4 separate regions of the Homo sapiens genome follow, and regions 1, 2 and 4 are each linked to region 3. Evidence: promoter capture Hi-C in 16 types of primary human blood cells and fetal thymus (Javierre and others, 2016). All regions are on one chromosome and are shown on one strand. Each heading gives the region's core, a stretch centred on a gene start or on the middle of the fragment in contact. The rest is flanking DNA. Distances are from core to core; before and after follow the strand shown. Region 1 overlaps DUSP16 (dual specificity phosphatase 16). Region 2 overlaps BORCS5 (BLOC-1 related complex subunit 5). Region 3 holds the start of GPR19 (G protein-coupled receptor 19). Region 4 overlaps DUSP16 (dual specificity phosphatase 16).

Region 1 (2,700 bases), core at 112-2,611, 160 kb after region 3:
GTTGGTCAGGCTGGTCTTGAACTCCTGACCTCAAATGGTCCACCTGCCTCGGCCTCCCAAAGTGCTGGGATTGCAGGTGTGAACCACTGTGCCCAGCCTTTTTTTTTTTTTTTTTAAATAACTGCTGGCCCAACCTTGAGAAGGGTGGTGACGTCCTTTATTTAATGTAATATAGATTGGCTGGAGGCCCGAATCTTGGTTTCCATCATCATCCTAAGTGAAGTTTTACAGGATTGGATTAGAGAGGAATTCTAAAGGGCTGTATGCCCTTGTGATGGTGATTAGCCGTTAGTAATGGGAAATTCCTGGGTGGAGATATTTATTTAACGTGCATTCATAAGCCGGTGAACACTGAACTCTATCTCTCCCAAGCTTTAACAATCTTTCCTTGACACATCTACACCTAAACATTTGTAGATTTTTAAGAAGAAAGATTGGAAACTAGATTGCTTCACCCATAAACCCTGTCTTATTAAACCCTAATTGGGCTCTGTGCCCCAGCATATCCTTGCAGTCTTCTGTTGGGTATCATAAGTGAATTGTTGTGCTCCTTTATTATTATTCAAATTATAGAGGCTGTGACATTGGAGAACTGGATCTCTTACATAATAAAATATTCAGAATTCCAGACTTTCAACATATAAAACATCGTAAGCAATAGATTAATCACAGTGTTACATGTGTCACCAGATTTCTCCTCTGCTCTCTCTTAAACTGCCTTCCAAGTGACCTGTCCCTTGTGACAGTTTTTTAGGAGAAGGTAAAGGATCCACCTCTGCTTGTTCGTGTGAAAAATACTGATGCCTGGGCCCATTCCTCAGAGATTCTGATTTATCATTCTGAGGTACATCTGGATATTTAAGAGCTCCCAGATGATTTTAATGTGTAACTAAGGTTCAGAGCTACTCTGTTAGCCAAAATGCTCCTCCATTTAATCATGTACTGAGTTGTTCCCTTTTTAGCAAATGTTAGAATTTACAATAGGTGGGAGGATTACCTGAGCATTTATTACATGCTTTATATTTTATTACATACTTTAACTGTCTTACTGTATTTTCATGGTGACCCAGGAAGTTGACAAGCATTTGCTTCGAGGGTTCCTCCCCCTTCACTAGAGTCCTGCCGAGGCTGTTGCCTCACCATTTGGTTCTCTATTTCATGCCTGGCATTTCATCTGTAACTTCATGGCAGGCTGGCATTTTGGTGAGGGCAACTCTCCACAGCCACACCCATTAAGTGTTTAAAAGGGTGCATTATTTCTCATCTTTTGAAATATTTTGCGTTCTGTGTTTTTCAGGAGCCTATTAAAATTTGCAGAATGTTTGGTAAGCTCTCTAGGGTTGTGGAAAGCACACTCCCTAGAAGCTATTTTCTGTCTTTTACCACTGATGAATAGTGTGACTTTGAATAAATATGTAACATTTTGTAAAAGGGACATTATTAACTTGCCAGAAGACATGCACTAGACTAAGTGGAAGTCCTTCTTTGGCTATGAAATTTCAGTAGTCTCTGACTTTCTTTAATGACGTGACATGACTGACTTCCCATTTCTCCTCTTACCATTATTTTCAACTCAAATCCAGCTTTTATGCCTCTATGTCCTCCAGGTAAGAGAGACTGAAAATCAGTAGGTCTTGACAACTGATTAAATGTGAACATTGAGAGAAAGACCAAAGATGTCTTTAGGATAGATGTCTTTAGCCAGGCGTGGTGGCGCACGGGGATGCATGTTTTCAAACCTGCCTGATTCTCTGAACCTCCTGGGACATTTGTTAAATATGCAAATTCACAGGTTCCACTCTAGACCCACGAATCAATCTCCAGAGGTGGGCCTGGTTGGGCATTTTTATCAAGTTTCTAAGTGATTCTTGTGATCAGGCAAAAGTGGGAAATTGTGCTATAGGAAATTGAATCTAGTTGGTGCTCGATAAATGAACATATATATATATATTCTACTAACTCATTTAATTTTTTTCCTGGAGTTTTATAGATTAGCTAAGATCCACACCCCAGAATTAGAAGAATGAACACTATTTGCAAGAGAAAAAACTGAACATTTATTATCGTGTTCTACTTAGAGGGGCTTTCAGTCTCTGATACTTAGTGATGCTTATGTGACACTTAAATATGTTGATAGCAAATGGTGATAGGTTTCTTTTGAATGTATTTCATAATCTGTCCAGTAGAGAATTAGACTGTGGAGCTTTGTGAGCATATTTTTAGGGTCTATGCCGTGGACTATGTTTTAGATGAGATGGTGAAATTAGATATTTTGGCATTTAGCCATTGAGTTTCTTAATAGACAGTTCTATGGTCTGGTTTATATTAAGTTTCATCAATAGCAAGCTTACTGTATTTGTAATGATTTTGCTTATAATTTTAATTTTGAATATGTGTTCTTTGATACTGAAGGTTACATTTGGCAAAGGAACATTGCCTGGTACTGAATCATATATAGTTATATTGCTTTGTGTAGAATACATATGAATGTCTTTTACCTTGTAGCATTGCTGTCATAGGGCTATGTAATTACATTTAAAAACTTTTTAAAAATTTGCTCACACTATAGTCACTGTTGGATGAATGTCATGATAGTGTATTAAAATTCATTTAGGTTTCACTTTGACTTCCACATCTTTTTTTCATGACATGACATGAGTTACGTCTTATTAAAAATATATATAGTTTTCTGTTATGAAA
Region 2 (2,700 bases), core at 195-2,694, 240 kb after region 3:
ATAGTGGTGTAGCTGCACAATCTTGCAAGAATACTAAAACCACTGAAATGCACACTGTAAAAGGGTGAACTACGTGAATGATAACTCAGTTTTAAAAAATAATAAAATAAGTGTATTCAAATACATTCAATTCCTTCTCCCAGACCCCCGACAGATACCAGTAATGCATCATGGTTATTCTTTAAATCTGACTTGGACTCAGAACCCTTCCTGACACTGAACCCCAGATGGCCACTTTCGAGTTTACGAAGATGAAGAAACCTATTTGGGAATCCAGGACTAGGCACTATGAAAGTGGCTCTAAAACAAATTGTTGAGGCTAAGTAAAACATTTTTAATCCTAAAGGAAGGTGGTAGCTGAGTCTGCAAGAGGAACAGTCCAAGGTAAAAAGCTGTGTTCATAAGATCCTGGATCTTTACATTAGCCATACCATGCATCGACTAACCCCAAAAGGAAGCGTGAGATGCCAGTTCTCAGCAATTTCCTTGAACCTTTAAGCCTGCTTATTTTTAAATGGACTCATACTGACAGCATTCATTTTTTAAAAAATAAAAACTATATATTTACAGCACACATGTTTTGACATACATATACATAGTGAAATGATTTCTATAGTCATGCTAATTAAAATATCCACCTCCTCACATACTTACCATTTTTTGCTTCTGACACCTTCTTCAAGACCTTTCTTCCAGTTTGCAAACCCGGTGCTTGTGTTTTTATACATCGGCTATCCCGATTTGGTCTTTGACTCATGGTATTAGCTGTCTCCACTCCGAAGAGTAGGAGGCCCATTGCCACAAATCAAGATATGGCACGTTCTAGCCCACCTGCCACCTCTATCCCCACCAGACCATGGCTACTTGACCTGCAGTAGAGATTCAGACAGATTATAAAGGTTAGGGTATGACAGGCTGCAACAAAACCTTTCAGGGTCAACTATGTGCTTTCTGGCTGTCCGACCCTCTCCAGATCACCACTCCCATGGAGGGTTTGGGAGTATGAATCTTTCCTGGACGCCTCTCTCTAGCACAATGGACAACAATGGGCAAATGTTTTCCTTAATTACGCCACAGGCTGAATGGCACCAATTACCACATTCTGGACACTTTGAAGTGACCTTGTTTCTGAAGACAGTAGTTTGCAATGGCAGCCTGTAAGAATAAACTCTTGCCGGCGTGCGGGAGGGAGTGGGTGGGGAAGGATCGCCGGCAAGATCACGAGGCGAGGCTTGCGCGCCGGCCCGCACCCTGGCCCCCAGTGCCTACCCGGTGGGCCCGACCCAGCCACGATCAAGGCGATCCTAATCTTAACAATCATGGGAAACCGCGGCTCTCCAAGTTCTACCAGCCCTATGGATTTGTGGAAACATTAGACAAATGTTTTGAAAATGTTTGTGAACTGGATTTGATTTTCCATGTAGACACGGTTCACAATATTCTTGCAGAAATGATGATGGGGGAATGGTATTGGAGACAAACATGAATGGGATTGTTACACAAATTGGTGCACAAAATAAGCTGGAAAAATCTGAGGCTGGCTGAGGGGGAGCTTCAGCCTGTGCTGAACCTGTATCAGCTGTAAAAAATGTGAATCTTCCTGAGATCCCAAGAAATATTAACATTGGTGACATTACTATAAAGTGCCAAACCTGCCCTCTTTTAAATAAAAATTTAAAAAGGCTACTCCCAGGTAAAATCCAGGGGGGAAAGTCACGTAAGTTTACCAAAAATAGAGGAGGACAGTCAAGTTTTGCTCTTGGATTTAAGTCAAGGTACTGTATAAAAGCTGTGTAAAATCAATATGAAAGTTCAATGCTGCTTTCCTTTTTTTTTTTTTTTTAATTTTTTTTTTTGAGAAAGAGTCTCGCTCTGTCGCCAGGCTGGAGTGCAGTGGTGCGATCTCGGCTCACTGCAAGCTCCGCCTCCTGGGTTCACGCCATTCTCCTGCCTCAGCCTCCTGAGTAGCTGGGACTACAGGCGAGCGCCACCACGCCCAGCTAATTTTTGTACTTTTAGTACAAAAAAAGTACTTTTAGTATTTTTAGTACAAAAATTAGACGGGGTTTCACCATGTTGGCCAGAATGGTCTTGATCTCTTGACCTCGTGATCCGCCCGCCTCGGCCTCCCAAAGTGCTGGGATTAGAGGCGTGAGCCACTGCGCCCAGCCAGTTCAATGTTGCTTTTCTTGCTCAGTGATTTTAAGGAAATTGAGTAGTTCCTATGTGATTTATTTATTTTTCTAAACTGCATTCCTGTGCCTACCTACGGCATGCCTCTATGTATTGGCTACTACAGTGTTTTAAAAAGTGTTTGAGATATTTCTTTAATTATGTACAACCTAAAGTGTTGGTGTTTTGTATGGATCACAAGTGCGGCATTCCTTAATTCCTTCTGCTGTTTGTCACACAATTGTTAAAGAACCAGATATGTATCGCATGAAAACATTATGACGTTTTTCTCTTAGTTTAAATAAACTCCAAGGTAACTGGACTTCTAAAGCACCTTTCTGTTTGCCTGATACCTACTTTAGCAATAATTTTTTTTACAACCCTCTGACTCAACAAAGTAAAGTATATTTTATCACTGTTAAAAAAAAAAAAAAGAATAAATTCTTGCCATGTATTCTCATAGGCGTACCTTTGATCTGTCAACCAGAAAAGAGAAATCCCTCTCTGGTAAATCTCACTCCACACACT
Region 3 (2,700 bases), core at 1-2,500:
TAGAAATCCTTCCATAAAAATACTTTTTAAAAAGTCACTTTGCCTGCCTTTTTTTTTGTTTTCAAACGAATCCAGTCATATCTGTAAAACAAGTTTCCATCAGATCTCATTTTATAAGCAACATCCTCTTCTAAGCCACCTGAAACTGACTTTGAAGAGCTCTTCAAACCATTTCAAAAATTTGTTTGTTGGCTTGTGCTTTCTTGGGTTAATGCTTCTAGAGTCGTCTCCAAGTTTCAAATTTTGCATGGCTGCTTTTTTTTTTTTTTTTTTTTTTTTACTTCGCTTCAAGAGTCAGTCTTAAATCATGTAGGTTTTGCTTGAGGTTTGCTCGAGCAAGAGGACCTTAGGTTTGGTCTTATTTGCATTTTTACCATAACTAGGCCTACATTCTAAATAAGTAACTAAATGCCACCTATGAGTTTCATTAACTGTGGCTGCTTGCCACTTTTTAGTTCTGGTTAGGGTGGTGCTATTGTTTTCCTCAGGTTCATTAGAAACATCTTCCGTGACAGCTCTGACGCGGCACCGATTTCTGAGTGTCCAGTGTTTTCCCTACCATTATTTTCTTTGGTCTGAAGTTGACACTTAAACTGTCCAGTTTTAAACCTCCGATCCGTGTTCCCAAATGAAAACATGACTTTCATTACGAATTACACGTCAAGGGAGCAAACCAAGGCGCTCGGGGCGGCGAGAACCGCGACACAGCGCTTCGCCTGGACTGGTAAACAAACCGCCGCGCAGGCGCAATGGCAACAGGACGGTAACCTGGGTAGCCGCCAATGGGCTTTTTCGTAGAGTGAAAAGCGGAAAAGCCAAACAAAACGCTGGTTCCAAGGTGATAAACTGGCTGACTTCCTCTATTTTTACTTTTTTAAAAAATTTTGTTTCTGAAGAAGTAGTTGTGCGGCCTTCTGGGCCTCGCAGAGATCTTCTTCGTGGAATTCCTCGGCCCCAGAGAAATGCCGCTAGCCTGTCGGCTAGTTATATTAGCCTAATTTTTTGTCTTGATCTTTTTCATTTGACTGCAGCACTAATCCTAATCCACTGGGGCAGCAAAAAAAAAAAAAAAAAAAAAAAAAAAAAAAAAAAAGGGCGGGTGGGATCTCAACGCCACGGAAAACCTTCATACTAGCCGGCCATCACCAAACCACGCGAGATCTGCCTGAGGAGAAGCGCCACCCCGGGAGTGCACGTTTGCGCATGCGTCTGGCTCATCATTTTTAGCGCGCAAAAGTTTCAAAACTTTCCGCCTAGTGAGAGGCGGTCCGATTTGGCCCTTGGGGAGTGTCCGTCGCGTTGATCTGATGGATTCACGTACACAACACCACATTCTATGAGATTTTGCAGGCAAAAGTCCACAAGCTCGTATGGTCATCCCTTCTTTCCGTTTTTATATTGGCCGTGAACTCTGTGAGGGGAGGTTTCAGCGACTGAAGTAGTAAAGGAGTGGGAGCGGGAGAGCCGATTAATGAGGTTGTAGAATAAGAGAGAAATCTGAAGGGACAAAGGAGTTTTATTTATTTTTTGGCTGGTGACCAAGAGGATGTGAGTGTGAGCTAAGGTAATACAGTGGGAAGGAGAAGATGGGAAGATTTGAGAGATAAATGAAGGCAGTAGCTCTGTAGCCTACCTGGGAGGCCAGACTAGAAAGAAGTTGACAGTAGAGGACATTTTTCTTAAAAGAGTGTGAACTTATGCATGTTTGTAAACAGGCAGAAATGGCATGCATTTAGTACATGGTGTATATAAGGTGGAAATCGGGACGCCCCTAATGGAATGGAATGAGGAAGATTCTAAAAGCCACAGTCCTGAACACAGGCCGAGGTGGAATTGCGAAGAACAGTCGCGGTAACAGAAGTCAGGAATTTGGGAACTGTCTCGAGGGATCTGACCAATCTGACCTCTTTTTGTCTCTCAGGATATATGGGACACCTGCACCGGCATTGGATTTGGCCCCGCAACATCTTAAAGGTACCACCCAACACCTGAAGTGTCTGCCTCCTTCCGATGGAGCCTCCTGGCCCCTCCCACCTCTCACCAGCTTTACCCTTTAGCCAGAATGAAATGTGGATTTCATGGAATGAAATGGTGGCATTTAGCTACCACATTACTCAGATGTGTCACTGACACCTTACAGAAGTACATACTTCTAGCCTCTAGCCTCCCAGTTCACTAGATATTAGAGTCCATCTTGATATCGGCAGCAATTCTATGCCACTTAGCTACTATAATTTGATTCTTTGTATACTATCTGGAGTACAAGGCAGAAGAATGCTGATGGAATACGTAATTTTACTCCAACAAAGGAATGGCTGATAGGTAAAGAGTATCACTTCATCTGTAAGAAAAACTAAATATGGAAAGCCACAGGATTGAAGCTAGCAGTGATGGAGAAGGATCCCAGTGTGAATATATAGAATGGAAGTACTTCAGTAAAGAGCCAGGCATGGTAATCACTTACCAAGAAAGTGACTTCATTTCATTTTGGCAGCCTAAAGTATATCCTGGCAGCTGCGCTGTATGTGTGAAGTGCATAGGAAAATGCTGCAGGAAAAATCCATGGAGGCAATGGAATAGGATTTCAGGGTTGAAGCCTGGGTGTCTTGTTTTAGGGAGTGGGATCATCCAGCTCTGAGAGGCATGACATCTCGATATGATGTCATATAAAGTGTGTACAATTGGGAATCAGACCTGGGC
Region 4 (2,768 bases), core at 263-2,762, 170 kb after region 3:
CATGCTTTAGCTTCTAATTTGTAAGTACAAAATTAGGAAACATGATCTAAAGGTTTTTAAAGGCTCTGACATCCTGACCTGAAATCAGCTAATCAAATATTTATTTAGAATCTTAAACTGTTTTTGGAACAAGGAAGAATTTACCTACTATAATAATATATTGAGTATGTTATGTCCAAAGTACTGTAGAAGTAAGAAATATAATAAACTTTTGCAATCAAATATTTACCCTCTAGGCTGGGTGCGGTGGCTCATACCTGTAGTCCCAGCACTTTGGGAGGCTGAGACAGGTGGATTGCTTGAGCCCAGGAGTTTGAGACCAGCCTGGGCAACATGGCGAAACCCTGTCTCTACAAAAAGTACAAAAATTAGCTGGGTGTGGTGGTGCGCGCCTGTAGTCCCAGCAACTTGGGAGGCTGAGGCAGGAGAATCACTTGAGCCTGAGAGGCAGGGGTTGCAGTGAGCTGAGATTGTGCTACTGCACTGCAGCCTGGGTGACAGAGCAAGACCCTGTCTCAAAAAAAAAAAAAATTTACCCTCTAGAAGTTCAGTGCCAGAAGTAGACATGTAGTTTTATGTAGTAGAGGATTTCATATAAGCAGAGATGGACCAGGGGAGATAGGAATCCGAGAGTATTGAAGGTCAAGGTGAAGTCCAAGCAATAAGCGCAAAACTTCAACTAGTGTTAATTAGAAAGTGATTGATTAAAGGAGTTTGGCAAGAAAGGGAAGCACTGGGTTCAGCTTTAAGGGCTCTCTATGTCTGGGTTGCCAACTTAGAGTTCCAGGTTAAGGGGTGAGATTTTTTTAAGACTAGGAGTTAGTGATTCTCTGAAGAATGAAGCAGGAAAAAGTGAAGGATAAGCTTACAGGGCCTTAAGCAACTTGGTGGTAGGGAGATGGCCTCCGGAAGGAGACATGACAGGGCCATGGCTGTGAGCTTCAGCACTTCACAGGCCTAGCTCAGCAGCTGCTGTGACAAACATATCAGTTGTTTTTGTCCTTCCTCTTCCTTAAAAGATAGCTGAAATTTATAGAAACTCCAGTTTTCCTGCATCTTCTCTCCTCCGTGAGGGCAATTTTAAAAGGCTGCTGTTTGCGCCCTGGTACTCGCGTGAGCTCACATGTGCACACACATACACACATATACACCTACCCATTCATCGCAGGAATTCTCAAGCCATTTCAGAAAATATTTTTTTTTTTGTCCTGGTAACACAGGATTGCTAACTTTGTCCTCAGCTGCCATTCTTTGTGGGATTTCAATAAATAAGCAAATAAAATATAGGAAAACTATTTGGAATAATAATACTTCAAGCAGCTTTTTGTAGCCCTTTTAATTCAATACTACAGGTCATTTAGTTCTGAGCCCTAGGTGATTATAATTCATGATATGTCTTGTTTTGTTTTCTTTGAGTTTTTACATTTTGAGGTAAAATGGAATTATCACTAGCACATTTTTCTGAAGCCATACCAATTTGTCCTTTTTATTTGTTTGTTCAAATGAAGCAGTGCATCAAGTATGGAATTAGATTAATGGAGTAAATATTATGAATCATACACTCTCTCTAATCTGACACTCTTTCTTCTTTTTTTGACCTCACGTTTTGTTTTCTGTCTTTCTCTCTCCGCGTAGGCTTTCAGTCCAGTGTAAAGCTGTTGGAGCGCGGGAGCAAAGGTAAAGAATGATGTAATGCGCTGGCTGCTCCAAAGCATCTTTTGTTGTGGAATGGTTATTCCAGTCATCTCTTTATGAATCAAATGTGAGGGGCTGCTTTGTGGACGGAGTCCTTTGCAAGAGCACATCAACGGGAAAGAGAAAGAGACATTCACTTGGAGGGCTCTTGCTGAAAATGGGTTTAACTCTCCTTTTGCCAGTCACCACCAGCCTGACCTCATACACTTTTAGTACAATGGAGTGGCTGAGCCTTTGAGCACACCACCATTACATCATCGTGGCAAATTAAAGAAGGAGGTGGGAAAAGAGGACTTATTGTTGTCATGGCCCATGAGATGATTGGAACTCAAATTGTTACTGAGAGGTTGGTGGCTCTGCTGGAAAGTGGAACGGAAAAAGTGCTGCTAATTGATAGCCGGCCATTTGTGGAATACAATACATCCCACATTTTGGAAGCCATTAATATCAACTGCTCCAAGCTTATGAAGCGAAGGTTGCAACAGGACAAAGTGTTAATTACAGAGCTCATCCAGCATTCAGCGAAACATAAGGTAAACGCTTTCCTTTTTGCCTTTTCAAAATAAATGGACACACTGAATGAGGAATAATTTTAATTGAAGCCTCCTCTTTAAGTAGAGAAAGTAATTTGAGGAAGTTTTGGTTGCTTTTTAAATTTTGGTGCCTTGTGGTACCTCAAAATAATTTATTGTCCATATTGCCACATTTAATAATATTTCTAAACTATGAAGGATTAACTTGCTTTAGTTTGGACAAGTGCTATATTTTCTTGTGGCTTGCTAAAATGATTTTATTAAACACTATTCTATATTATCTGCAAATTTACTGAAAGGAAAGTCATTCTTTTCAAGTTCTTTGGAAAGAAAGTAGGAACTAATTATTAGGGGTGCTTTTTATGTGTCATAACACATGTGGTAACATTGGTCAAGACTTAATGATATCTTCAAGGGAAGTTATTCCTGGGATACTAAAATGTTGTCTGTGTGGTGAGGAAGTTGGTTTTTTTCTTCACAAATACAAATGAGCTCATGTTTTAATTTAAATAAACAACTGATTTCTTTGTTAAGGTGTAA

What was found. Contacts are between HindIII fragments. The CHiCAGO score rates a contact against its expected background, and 5 or more counts as called.
Region 1: a contact is called between a fragment that was not itself captured here and the fragment with the promoter of GPR19 in region 3, in 1 of 17 cell types (total CD8 T cells). The highest score is 6.0, in total CD8 T cells.
Region 2: a contact is called between a fragment that was not itself captured here and the fragment with the promoter of GPR19 in region 3, in 8 of 17 cell types (total CD8 T cells, naive CD8 T cells, total CD4 T cells and 5 more). The highest score is 10.7, in total CD8 T cells.
Region 4: a contact is called between a fragment that was not itself captured here and the fragment with the promoter of GPR19 in region 3, in 1 of 17 cell types (total CD8 T cells). The highest score is 5.9, in total CD8 T cells.

Annotation. Positions count from the first base shown.
Region 1 is chr12:12,537,167-12,539,866 of GRCh38, reverse strand. All of the region lies in intron 1 of DUSP16 (dual specificity phosphatase 16), which reads left to right. Among named protein-coding and RNA genes, the nearest start is that of DUSP16, 24 kb to the left of the region's middle. The HindIII fragment of the contact is 1,974 bases long and covers 375-2,348 here.
Region 2 is chr12:12,451,073-12,453,772 of GRCh38, reverse strand. The region is part of intron 3 of BORCS5 (BLOC-1 related complex subunit 5); the gene reads right to left. It also overlaps the pseudogene AP3S1P3. Among named protein-coding and RNA genes, the nearest start is that of BORCS5, 95 kb to the right of the region's middle. The HindIII fragment of the contact is 4,586 bases long and covers 1-2,700 here.
Region 3 is chr12:12,694,733-12,697,432 of GRCh38, reverse strand. It overlaps GPR19 (G protein-coupled receptor 19), which reads left to right and starts at 1,250. Exons shown (of 4, transcript NM_006143.3): 1 at 1,250-1,368; 2 at 1,922-1,974. RefSeq lists enhancers at 1,083-1,162, 1,343-1,502. The HindIII fragment of the contact is 8,608 bases long and covers 1-2,700 here.
Region 4 is chr12:12,520,331-12,523,098 of GRCh38, reverse strand. DUSP16 (dual specificity phosphatase 16) reads left to right here. Exons shown (of 7, transcript NM_030640.3): 2 at 1,636-2,228. The coding sequence starts at 2,001. Among named protein-coding and RNA genes, the nearest start is that of DUSP16, 41 kb to the left of the region's middle. The HindIII fragment of the contact is 1,292 bases long and covers 867-2,158 here.